Regions from separate parts of the Homo sapiens genome. Here regions 1 and 3 are each linked to region 2. Evidence: promoter capture Hi-C in human tissues and cell types (Jung and others, 2019). All regions are on one chromosome and are shown on one strand. Each heading gives the region's core, a stretch centred on a gene start or on the middle of the fragment in contact. The rest is flanking DNA. Distances are from core to core; before and after follow the strand shown.

Region 1 (3,438 bases), core at 17-2,516, 150 kb before region 2:
AATTTTTTTTTTTTTTTGAGACAGAGTCTCGCTCTTTCACCAGGCTGGAGTGCAGTGGCGCGATCTCAGCTCGCTGCAGCCTCCACCTCCCGGGTTCAAGCGATTCTTCTGCCTCAGCCTCCCTAGTAGCTGGGACTACAGGCACATGCCACCATGCTCAGCTAATTTTTGTATTTTTAGTAGAGATGGGGTTTCACCATGTTCAGGATAGTTTCAATCTCTTGACCTCGTGATCCGCCTGCTTCAGCCTCCCAAAGTGCTGGGATTACAGGCGTGAGCCACCGTGCCAGGTCTTTTTTTTTTTTTTTTTTCCTTATTCTGGTAGTGGGGAAATGGTATCCCACTTGTTTTGTTTTGTTTTGTTTTGTTTGAGACATAGTCTTGCTGTGTTGCCCAGGCAGAGTGCAATGGCATGATCTCAGCTTACTGCAACCTCTGCCTCCTGGGTTCAAGCGATTCTCCTGCCTCAGCTGGGATTACAGGTGCCTGCCTCCATGCCCGGCTAATTTTTGTATTTTTTAGTAGAAATGGGGTTTCACCATGTTGGTCAGGCTGGTCTCGAACTCCTGATCTCAGGTGATCCACCCACCTCGGCCTCTCAAAGTGCTGGGATTACAGGCGTGAGCCACTACGCCCAGCTATTTTTTGAATTATTATTTGAAGTTGAACATTTTTCATGTGTATTGACTTAACATAAATATCTCTTAAATGTGCTAGCATAAATATATTTATCTTTTTTTTTTTTTTTTCTTTGAGACAAACTCACTCTGTCGCCCAGGCTGGAATGCAGTGGCACAATCTTGGCTCACTGCAACCTCCGCCTCCCAGGTTCAAGTGATTCTCGTGCCTCAGCCTCCCAAGTAGCTGGGATTACAGGTGCCCGCCACCACACCTGGCTAATTTTTGTATTTTTAGTAGAGATGAGGTTTCACCACATTGGCCAGGCTGATCTTGAACTCCTGATCTCTCAAGTAATCCACCCACCTCAGCCTCCCAAAGTGTAGGCGAGGTTTCACCACATTAGCCAGGCTGGTCTCGAACTCCTGACCTCTCAAGTGGCCCACCAGCCTCAGCCACTGCGCCCGGCCAATATTTCTTATACATGATATTGTATTCTGTGTATCATTAGTTTTACACATGTGTGTAATATGTAATATGGGAGATAGGGATAGATAGTGCTGGGAAAAGAGTGAATGTGGTGAAGGTAGGGGTTGGGACAATGGGAAGAGGACATTGGGATCGAACCTGGGAGGCAGAGGTTGCAGTGAGTCGGGATTGCGCCATTGCACTCCAGCCTGGGGAACAAGAGCGAAACTCCACCTCAAAAAAAAATTGAAAAGAAACCTAAGATAGGCCGGGCGCGGTGGCTCATGCCTATAATCCTAACACTTTGGGAGGCCGAGGCAGGTAGATCACTTGAGGTCAGGAGTTCAACACCAGCCTGGCCAATATGGTGAAACCCCATCTCTACTAAGAATACAAAAATTAGCTGGGCATGATGGCACACACCTGTAATCCCACCTACTCCGGGGGCTGAGGCAGGAGAGTCATCCCAGGCAACAGAGCAAGAATTCTGTCTCAAAAACAAACACAAACAAAAAAAAAAACCTGGCCAGGCACATTGGCTCACGCCTGTAATCCCAGCACGTTGGGAGGCCATAGTCGGTGAATTGCCTGAGGTCAGGAGTTTGAGACCAGCCTGGCCAACATGGTGAAACCCCGTCTCTGCTAAAAATACAAAAATCAGCTGGGTGTGGTGGCACATGCCTGTAATCCCAGCTACTCGGGAGGCTAAGGCAGGAGAATGGCTTGAACCCGGAAGGCAGAGGCTACAATGACCCGAGATTGTGCCACTGCACTCCAGCCTGGGTGACACAGCAAGACCCTATCTCAAAAAAAAATAAAGAAAAAACCTAAGACAGTCAATAGTTCCCAAACCAGGAATTTACAAATCACCCTTTGAAACCTAATTTGTTGCACTATGAAGAACTATATATGCTTTGCACTTCTTCTTTTCTTCCCTATTTTCTCCATCCTGTACCAGTTGAGTATATTTCTGAGCACATTTTTACCCCAGTACCCTAAAAATAAGAAGTTTGAGATTGTAGCTGAAATAAACTTTTAATCAGGTGTGACCACTAGTGGCCAACAGTGAAGTCATACTTTGACTTGACCTCTAAGGCTTCTATCAGTCCACGTAATAATAACCTGAACCTTCTTACTCTTCTATGTAACTTCCTAATTCCTAAATAAAAATATGATAAATTTGATAATTTTTATCACATTTGATAAATATGATGTCTCAAATAGAGCATTATGAATTTAAGTATTATGTGCAGGTATGGTGTCTGTGCTAATAAGAAATTTGCAATGAATAACCTGATGGAACAAGATTCTTAAAATTTATTGAACTGAAGTAGAATGTATCTTCTGGCAGTTATACATTTATGATATAATGCCATCATGAATGGTATGGTGAACATCAGGCTAAGTGTTCCCTGGGTACAGAAAAAAATCAAACCAGAATAACAAAGGCTGGTTAATTATAGTAGTTTCTTTCAAAACTGAGATTTTAGTTTACCTTTGCTTCATTTGAAGTTGATTTAATTTTTATTCACTAATGTAGATATTGGCAATTATTTTTATAACTATCTTCTAGAATGTTATGGTGCAAGCCTAAGTTTTTGAATAATACTATAGGCAGTATTCTAATTTGGATTTTTTTTTAACATATGTTTCAAGCTTAATTTGAATTCTCTCGTCCCCACTCCCTTTCTCTATTTATTACCCCTTCTTTCTCTAGGAGGCTGCATTGAGGCGTGAGCAAAAGAAGTTGGAAAAGAAGCAAATGAAAATGAAACAAATCAAAGTGAAAGCCATGTAAAGCCATCCCAGAGATTTGAGTTCTGATGCCACCTGTAAGCTCTGAATTCACAGGAAACATGAAAAACGCCAGTCCATTTCTCAACCTTAAATTTCAGACAGTCTTGGGCAACTGAGAAATCCTTATTTCATCATCTACTCTGTTTGGGGTTTGGGGTTTTACAGAGATTGAAGATACCTGGAAAGGGCTCTGTTTCAAGAATTTTTTTTTCCAGATAATCAAATTATTTTGATTATTTTATAAAAGGAATGATCTATGAAATCTGTGTAGGTTTTAAATATTTTAAAAATTATAATACAAATCATCAGTGCTTTTAGTACTTCAGTGTTTAAAGAAATACCGTGAAATTTATAGGTAGATAACCAGATTGTTGCTTTTTGTTTAAACCAAGCAGTTGAAATGGCTATAAAGACTGACTCTAAACCAAGATTCTGCAAATAATGATTGGAATTGCACAATAAACATTGCTTGATGTTTTCTTGTATGTCTACATTAAACTTGAGAAAAAGTAAAAATTAGAACACTGTATGTAGTAATGAAATTTCAGGGACCCA
Region 2 (3,624 bases), core at 819-3,318:
TGCCCAGCACTTTGTGCATAATTATTGAAATGTTCACATGACATTGTGATCTGAGGGTAGGGGCTGTATCTCATCATCTTTCTAGTACCAATGGCATGCCTGGCACAAAATAAACACAAGTTGGTTGAACTTCATTGGGATGCAGTGGCTGATACCTGCAATCCCAGCACTTTGGGAGGTGGAGGTGGGTAGATCATTTGAGGTCAGGAGTTCGAGACCAGCCTGGCCAACATGGTGAAACCCTGTCTCTATTAAAAATACAAAAAAATTTAGCCAGGCATGGTGGTGCACACTTGTAGTCCCAGCTACTCCGGAGGCTAAAGCAGGAGAATCACTTGAGCCTGGGAGGTGGAGGTTGCAATGGGCCAAGATCACGCCACTGCACTCTACCCTGGGTGACAGAGTGAGACTCTGTCTCAAAATAAATAAATAAATAAATAAATAAAAGTTGCTTGAACTTAATATCAAGAATTTTGAAGAAAAGGAAGCAAACAAATACCAGGCATGAGCTGAGGGGGTAAATTAACATTAACTGAATGCCTATGATGTGCCATAAACCATAAACTACCTCAAGGTGGGTATTATCCTTGTTTCAGAGAAACTCAAGTTAAGCTACTTGTTCAAGGTTAGTCAGTGACAGAAACCAGTCTTCCTGACTCCAAAGTCCACAGTTTCTCTCTCTTTTTTTTTTTTTTTTTTTGAGATGGAGTCTTGCTCTGTCACCCAGGCTGGATGGAGTACAGTAGAGCAATCTCGCTTACTGCAGCCTTCAACTCCTGGGTTCAAGCAATTCTCCTGCTTCAGCCTCCCGAGTAGCCAGCATTACAGGCATGCACCACCATGCCCAGCTGTTTTTTTTTTTTTTTTTTTTTGTTATTTTTAGTAGACACAGGGTTTCCCCATGTTGGCCAGGCTAGTCCTGAACTCCTGACCTCAAGTGATCTGCCTGCCTCTGGCCTGGGATTACAGGCTGTGCCACTGCGCCCAGTCCAAAGTCCATGCTTTCTACAGGACTTTTCCTTTGCTCCTACAGATGTCTGGCCCTAAACAGAAAAAAAGCCTTTTCAGTGTGGCGACCTAAGGGAGAAAAGACATGGCTGCAAATCTACCTTCCAAGGAAATGTGTCTTGGGGAAACATTAATGAAGCAAACTAAGGCCTAAGCTAAGGCCTAAGCACTTAAGTAATAGCTTTACTCAGTGCCCCTGCCACAACCAATAAGGTACTTGAGGCGACTTCAGAGGGGTTGATTTGTCTCTTCAGGAGAGACACACATCTGCCCTGACTCTTAGGGCTTGTTTCTATTAAGTACCCAGCTAGATTAGGATGAAGTCACTTCTACCTTACCGGCTTATCTTCTTAAGAGCAGCTCCCTCTCTGACAAACTGGCCAGATGCTCAGCGTCTGGAAAAGTGAGTGAGAACCTCCAACGTAGGGTAGGTGTTTTGAGGATTTATGAGGTGGGCAATGGTGGGTACTGGGGAAGGAAAACAAAGTGAAGGGCCGGAGATCTAGGTGGGCCCAATTCCGAGAGGCAAGCGAGGCTGCGGGCACTGAGAGGGCAGCGGCAGCCAGTGCTGGGTGACCGTCAGGGTCTCACCTTTCACTGCCAGGCGGATGTTCAAACAGAGTTTGGAGAAGATGCGACTCCTTTCGACGTCCTTCGGACCCTTGATGTGCCTGACTTTGGACCACTTGTTGTGCCCGGCGGGGACAGCCGCGGTAAAGTGCAGCGTCCTGCCCGGAGCGGCACCGCAGCCCCGGGGCTCGGGGTGGGAGGGCCGGGGGTCGCGCGGAGGAGCCGCCCTGACCCCGGGGCCTCGTGCCAGCAAGCATCGGGCAGCGGCCCTGCTTAGGCTGGCAGCAGCCCAAGCCGACATCGGTCCCGACCCTGGGGTTCAAGCTGCTAGCAGCAGCGGCCAACGCCGGCGCGTCTCTTCCACTGCCGGAACAAGCAGTTCCGGACCCCGCGGCCGCCTGTGCCGGTCACCTGAGATCCAAAGGCTTGGGCCCGCCCGGGGCGGCTCAACAGCTAATGACCCTACACTGTCCCCGCGGCACCCGGGACTGGGGGCCCTTGATGGCGTAGCACACTTCCTTTACCGGGTTCGCTCCAAAAACACGTCCCCACTGCCCGCAAAGTCCGTTCCGTGGCTGCACGGTACTCGCTCCTCTCTTGCCCTTGAGCAGATCTAGTTAGTGCTCAAGCCCTCACGGTTGCCTAGAGAGCGCCGGACTTTGTTTCTCATAATGTTTTAGTGGAGACACATCTGAGTTATGAAACTGACTTTGCTTCCAAATTGCTGCCTAAATCTGAGCAAGTCCAGAATGATATTTTGTTGTTGCCTCATTGTACTGGGAAAGAAACTGCTGCCAGAGAAGTGAATTGCCCAAATGTTTAATCTCTCTGAACGTCTTCCCTATTTATAAATAAGGATCTAATATTTGCTTTATCAACATAGGAAAGTTAGAAACACAAAATGAGCCCTTAGAGCTTTAAAGTAATAAAGTTTTATGTAAATAGCCACAGTGCACTTAAGCCCCTAGATGCAAGAGATGGTTTGGGACAGACTCAGATGAGTCACAGGCCTTTGGGAGAGGGAGAATGATCAGACAAGCCCTTTGGAGCTAAACTCCCCTCTTCATTTTCTCTCTGCTGTCTCGAAAGAGAAAACCGAATCCGTTAGAAGATGGAGAGAAACAAAGCGGCAGCTGCTGAAAAGCTTTGTAGTGACTCCCATGCTGGTGAGATTAAGTCCAAAGGGCATGACATATCAGGTAGAGAAGCAGGACAGCCGGGCGCGGTGGCTCACGCCTGTAATCCCAGCACTTTGGGAGGCTGAGGCAGACGGATCGCTAGGTCAGGAGTGCCAGACCAGTCTGACCAACATGGTGAAACCCCGTCTCTACTAAAAATACAAAAAAATTAGCCGGCCGTGGTGGCGCGCGCCTGTAATGCCAGCTACTCAGAAGGATGAGGCAGGAGAATCGCTTGAACCCGGGAAGAGGAGGTTGCAGTGAGCCGAGATCGCGCCACTGCACTCCAGCCTGTGCGACAGAGCGAGAATCCAACTCAAAAAAAAAAAAAAAAAAGAGAGAGAGAGAGAGAGAGAAGCAGGACAGTGTGAAGTCCAAGTTTGTGCCCTCTGCAGTTAGACTGGGTGGCTTCAAACCCTGGTTGTTCCATTTTCTAGTGTATCCTTGGGCAAGTTCCTTTACTTTCCTGTTTCAGTTTCCTTACCATAGAATGGCCTTGTGAGGACTAAATGGGATAATGGATGCAAAGCACAAAAGCATAGATTTTTTATTTTTTATTATATAAGAACCTCCATGGGGCTGGGTGCGGTGGCTCACGCCTGTAATCCTAGCACTTTGGGAGGCCGAGGCTGGCAGATCACTTGAGGTCAGGAGTTCAAGACCAGCCTGGTCAACATGGTGAAACCCCGTCTCTACTAAAAATACAAAAATTAGCCAGGTGCGGTGGGTGCCCATAGCCCTTCATACATGCTTGCACCTTAGCACTTACCTTTTAAAAAAATATCAAAATGTTTATATCTGTTTCTACCGTAATACTAAATTCTCTGAGAGTAGGACTGTACTTCCTATGCCCAACACAGTTCTCATT
Region 3 (3,245 bases), core at 372-2,871, 200 kb before region 2:
AAGACTTACAAATCTGTCTGTTCCACAGCCTTCCTGGAGTGGGGTGTCTATCAACCCTGCCCAGAGCCATAGAACACATGCTGTGGCTTTAACAATCCAAGTTTGGAAGTTAACGCTAATTAGAAAGGTCACAAACCTGGAAACGGCTACCACTCACTCTGATTCTCATCACTCCACAACTGAACAATGGGGGAAAAGAGACTAATGGACAGTAATTAATGTTCCAGCTTGAAATACAAGAACCACAAACAGGACACTTACTAAGAGACAGAGGTTAGATGTTACCAGAGGCCATCAATAGATCCCACACTACTCTACCACTTGATTTATCAGAATAAACATTAATTTTGGATTTAAAAAGAAGCAAGCTGAATAAAGCTCGTATTTGCTTTGGATGTCACAGTTGATCAAAAATTCCATCTTCAATATGGGGGAAAGCCATGTGAATCTATGTATTACCAATTGGTCACACAGGTACAAAAGGAGCAAATCAAATGACATTCCCTGCTGAATGTCAGGAATGGCCATTTTGAGTGAAGGCAAGCTCTAGCTTGTCCCCAGTATAGACTTTGTGGATAAAAATAAAAGATAGAAATACTGCATAGGAACTCACTTGGTCATCTTCCTCTTCAATGTCATCTCGAATACCCCTGGAAAAACAAGCGGAGAAACAAACTTCCCTGCAAATGTTCCACATACCCAGCTCCATACTTACAGCAGATTAGTGTTGAATTCCACACAGCACAGGAACTCTCAACACTAATAATAACAAAGCAGCAATGAGCACACTATAAACTATCCACCCCATTATATATATGTGTAGCTGCACTCTATAATCTGCAGTTTGCATTTCTTTTAAATGGGATGATATGATACCCCTAGAAACAGCGGTTACCAACAAGGATATCAGACGTAAAAACTTTCTGAAGACAGATACCAAATGGTCCTAGTTTTGTGAATCCATACAACAAACAATGCGGTTGTGAAAAGTATTTCATACTAAAAAGAAAAAAAAAATCTTGTATTTGGCATATACTAGAAAGGTCACAACCTTCTTATTGTCCCCAAAGTTTCTAGCTCTAGGGTAAATGGTTTTCAGCCAAAAGCAGTTACCTTAGGGATGGGGACAGAGTGAAAACTACATTAACTCCTTTATGAGTTTGGGAATAAAACGCTTAAACAGTTCACATGGAGAAGGGGACCATCACCACTTGCTGTATGTCTCAGGAGCTATAGAGAAAATATGGTTGCTTAGTTCCCACAACCATCTGTTTCTAATCAGACTTTCTGCCTAACCTAGAGCGCTTGCTATTCCTAAGGCAACCGGCAAGCAACACCACCAGTGCAGGGCAGGTGGAAGGGGATATGACATACAGTGAATACCAAAACCACAGCTAAATCTCCATATGGAACAGAAACCCTGGTAAAGGACTGAAGCACTGACTGCCAAGCACAGGGAGAAAAAAGTCCAATCATGACTGGCAGAAAAAGCCTTAGGAGTTTATTCATCAAGGCAAAGAGACTTCTCTTTCCCAGAAAATAAAGTACTTCAAGTTCTGACTATGGCTGCTACAGCACAATGTCACTCTGGAGCTAAATAAAATTAGGTATTATTACAGCCCTCCTTATACACAGGTTTTTATACTGTGAATATTATTTTTCCACCTGTGTTGGTTGAAAAAAATCCCCATGAGTGGACTCACGCAGTTCAAACCTGTGTTGTTCAAAGGTTCAACTATACATAGTTTTCATGATACAGTTGCCATTACTTCTCATAATCAACCATATAGGCATAAACCTATTTTATATTAATTATGCGACAAACTCAGAACAATGAGCCTAAACTTTAATAATTATGCTCCCCTAAACTCTACTATAATTCATTCCTTGTGTTTACTAAACAACTATTTATAGTCAAAGACCAAATACTATTCTACCAAACTGAATGCTTTTTAATTATTGCAAATGCAAAGACTGTTGCCATCTCTATTCTTAAAGTATTCAAGATACAGGAATAACTTCAAGTAAAGTACACAAGTGTACGTCAATATTTTTTCTCTATAAACTTTGGGGGAATAGACTTTGCAATACTTCAGCAGTTTTCACGTAACCTTTGTGAGGGAGAAGAAAACAACTTACTTTACGTTTTTTCTTTCCTTGTCCTTTTCTTCAAGCCTCTTCATGTCTCTAGCTGCCTGATCCTAATGAAACAAAAGGCTGTATAGAATGACATCAACTAAAAACACTGAAAGAAACAATTTTTAGATTGGAACAAGTGCCATAATAGCTTTAGCTATGTATTTGACAAGTGCATTTTGATGCCATCAAATTGCATTTTGACAATTATTTTTCAAAGAGAAATAACTAAATGCTGTATAAATTGGCTGTATATGGACTGCACAATTTTATCTGTAATAATGTGCCACACATGGAAAAATGAACAAAAATGCTTGCTTCACAAATACATAACCTTAAGTTGCTTTAAGTTAATGATAAAATTACAGATATAAAGTGCTTTCAATTCAGGCAGATAGGCCTTCCTCAAAGTATAGCTTAAGACCACATACATCTGACTCTGGAAAGGTTGCTCTCAATCTGGGACAATTTTGCCCCTAGGCAACATCTGGCAATGTCTGGAGACATTTTTAATTTTGGGGGTGGTACAGCTGATAGTACTGGTTTCTAGAGGCGGAGGATGGCTACTAAACATTCTACAATACACAGGAAAGCCCCACAACAAATAATTATCCAGCGCCAAATGACAGTAGTCTCAAGGCTGAAAATTCTGTTCTACATCTACTAAATCAGAATCCTTGGGGCTGGAGTGAGTTAAATGTGTGTAGTTTTTACATTTTTCATAGGCAATTCTTTTTTTTTTTTTTTTTTGAGATGGAGTTTCGCTCTCGTTGCCCAGGCTGGAGTGCAATGGCACCATCTTGGCTCACCACAACCTCCTCCTCCCAGGTTCAAGCGATTCTCCTGCCTCAGCCTCCTGAGTAAGCTGGGATTACAGGTATGAGCCACCACATCCAGCTAATTTTGTATTTTTAGTAGAGACGGGGTTTCTCCATGTTGGTCAGGCTGGTCTCGAGCTCGTGACCTCAGGTGATCCACCGCGCCCGGCCTAGGCAATTTTTATATACTGCAAATTGATGATCACTGATCAAAATTAATCATTTGCATTATACATTTGAAAATCAAGGTCAGAAGAGTTAAATGATTTTTCCCAAGGCTTTATACACATT

What was found. Contacts are between HindIII fragments. The study calls those that stand out against the background at their distance.
Region 1: a contact is called between a fragment that was not itself captured here and the fragment with the promoter of TACO1 in region 2, in 1 of the 25 tissues and cell types used here (ovary).
Region 3: a fragment that was not itself captured here is called in contact with the fragment with the promoter of TACO1 in region 2 in 1 of the 25 tissues and cell types used here (bladder).

What each region holds. Positions count from the first base shown.
Region 1 is chr17:63,746,327-63,749,764 of GRCh38, reverse strand. It overlaps CCDC47 (coiled-coil domain containing 47), which reads left to right. Exons shown (of 13, transcript NM_020198.3): 13 at 2,804-3,438. The coding sequence ends at 2,884. Among named protein-coding and RNA genes, the nearest start is that of STRADA, 6.2 kb to the right of the region's middle. The HindIII fragment of the contact is 4,620 bases long and covers 1-3,438 here.
Region 2 is chr17:63,599,339-63,602,962 of GRCh38, reverse strand. It overlaps TACO1 (translational activator of cytochrome c oxidase I), which reads right to left and starts at 2,068. Exons shown (of 5, transcript NM_016360.4): 1 at 1,600-2,068. The coding sequence starts at 1,879. The HindIII fragment of the contact is 17,557 bases long and covers 1-3,624 here.
Region 3 is chr17:63,796,994-63,800,238 of GRCh38, reverse strand. It overlaps DDX42 (DEAD-box helicase 42), which reads right to left. Exons shown (of 18, transcript NM_203499.3): 4 at 2,140-2,201; 5 at 614-650. Among named protein-coding and RNA genes, the nearest start is that of DDX42, 24 kb to the right of the region's middle. The HindIII fragment of the contact is 5,716 bases long and covers 1-3,245 here.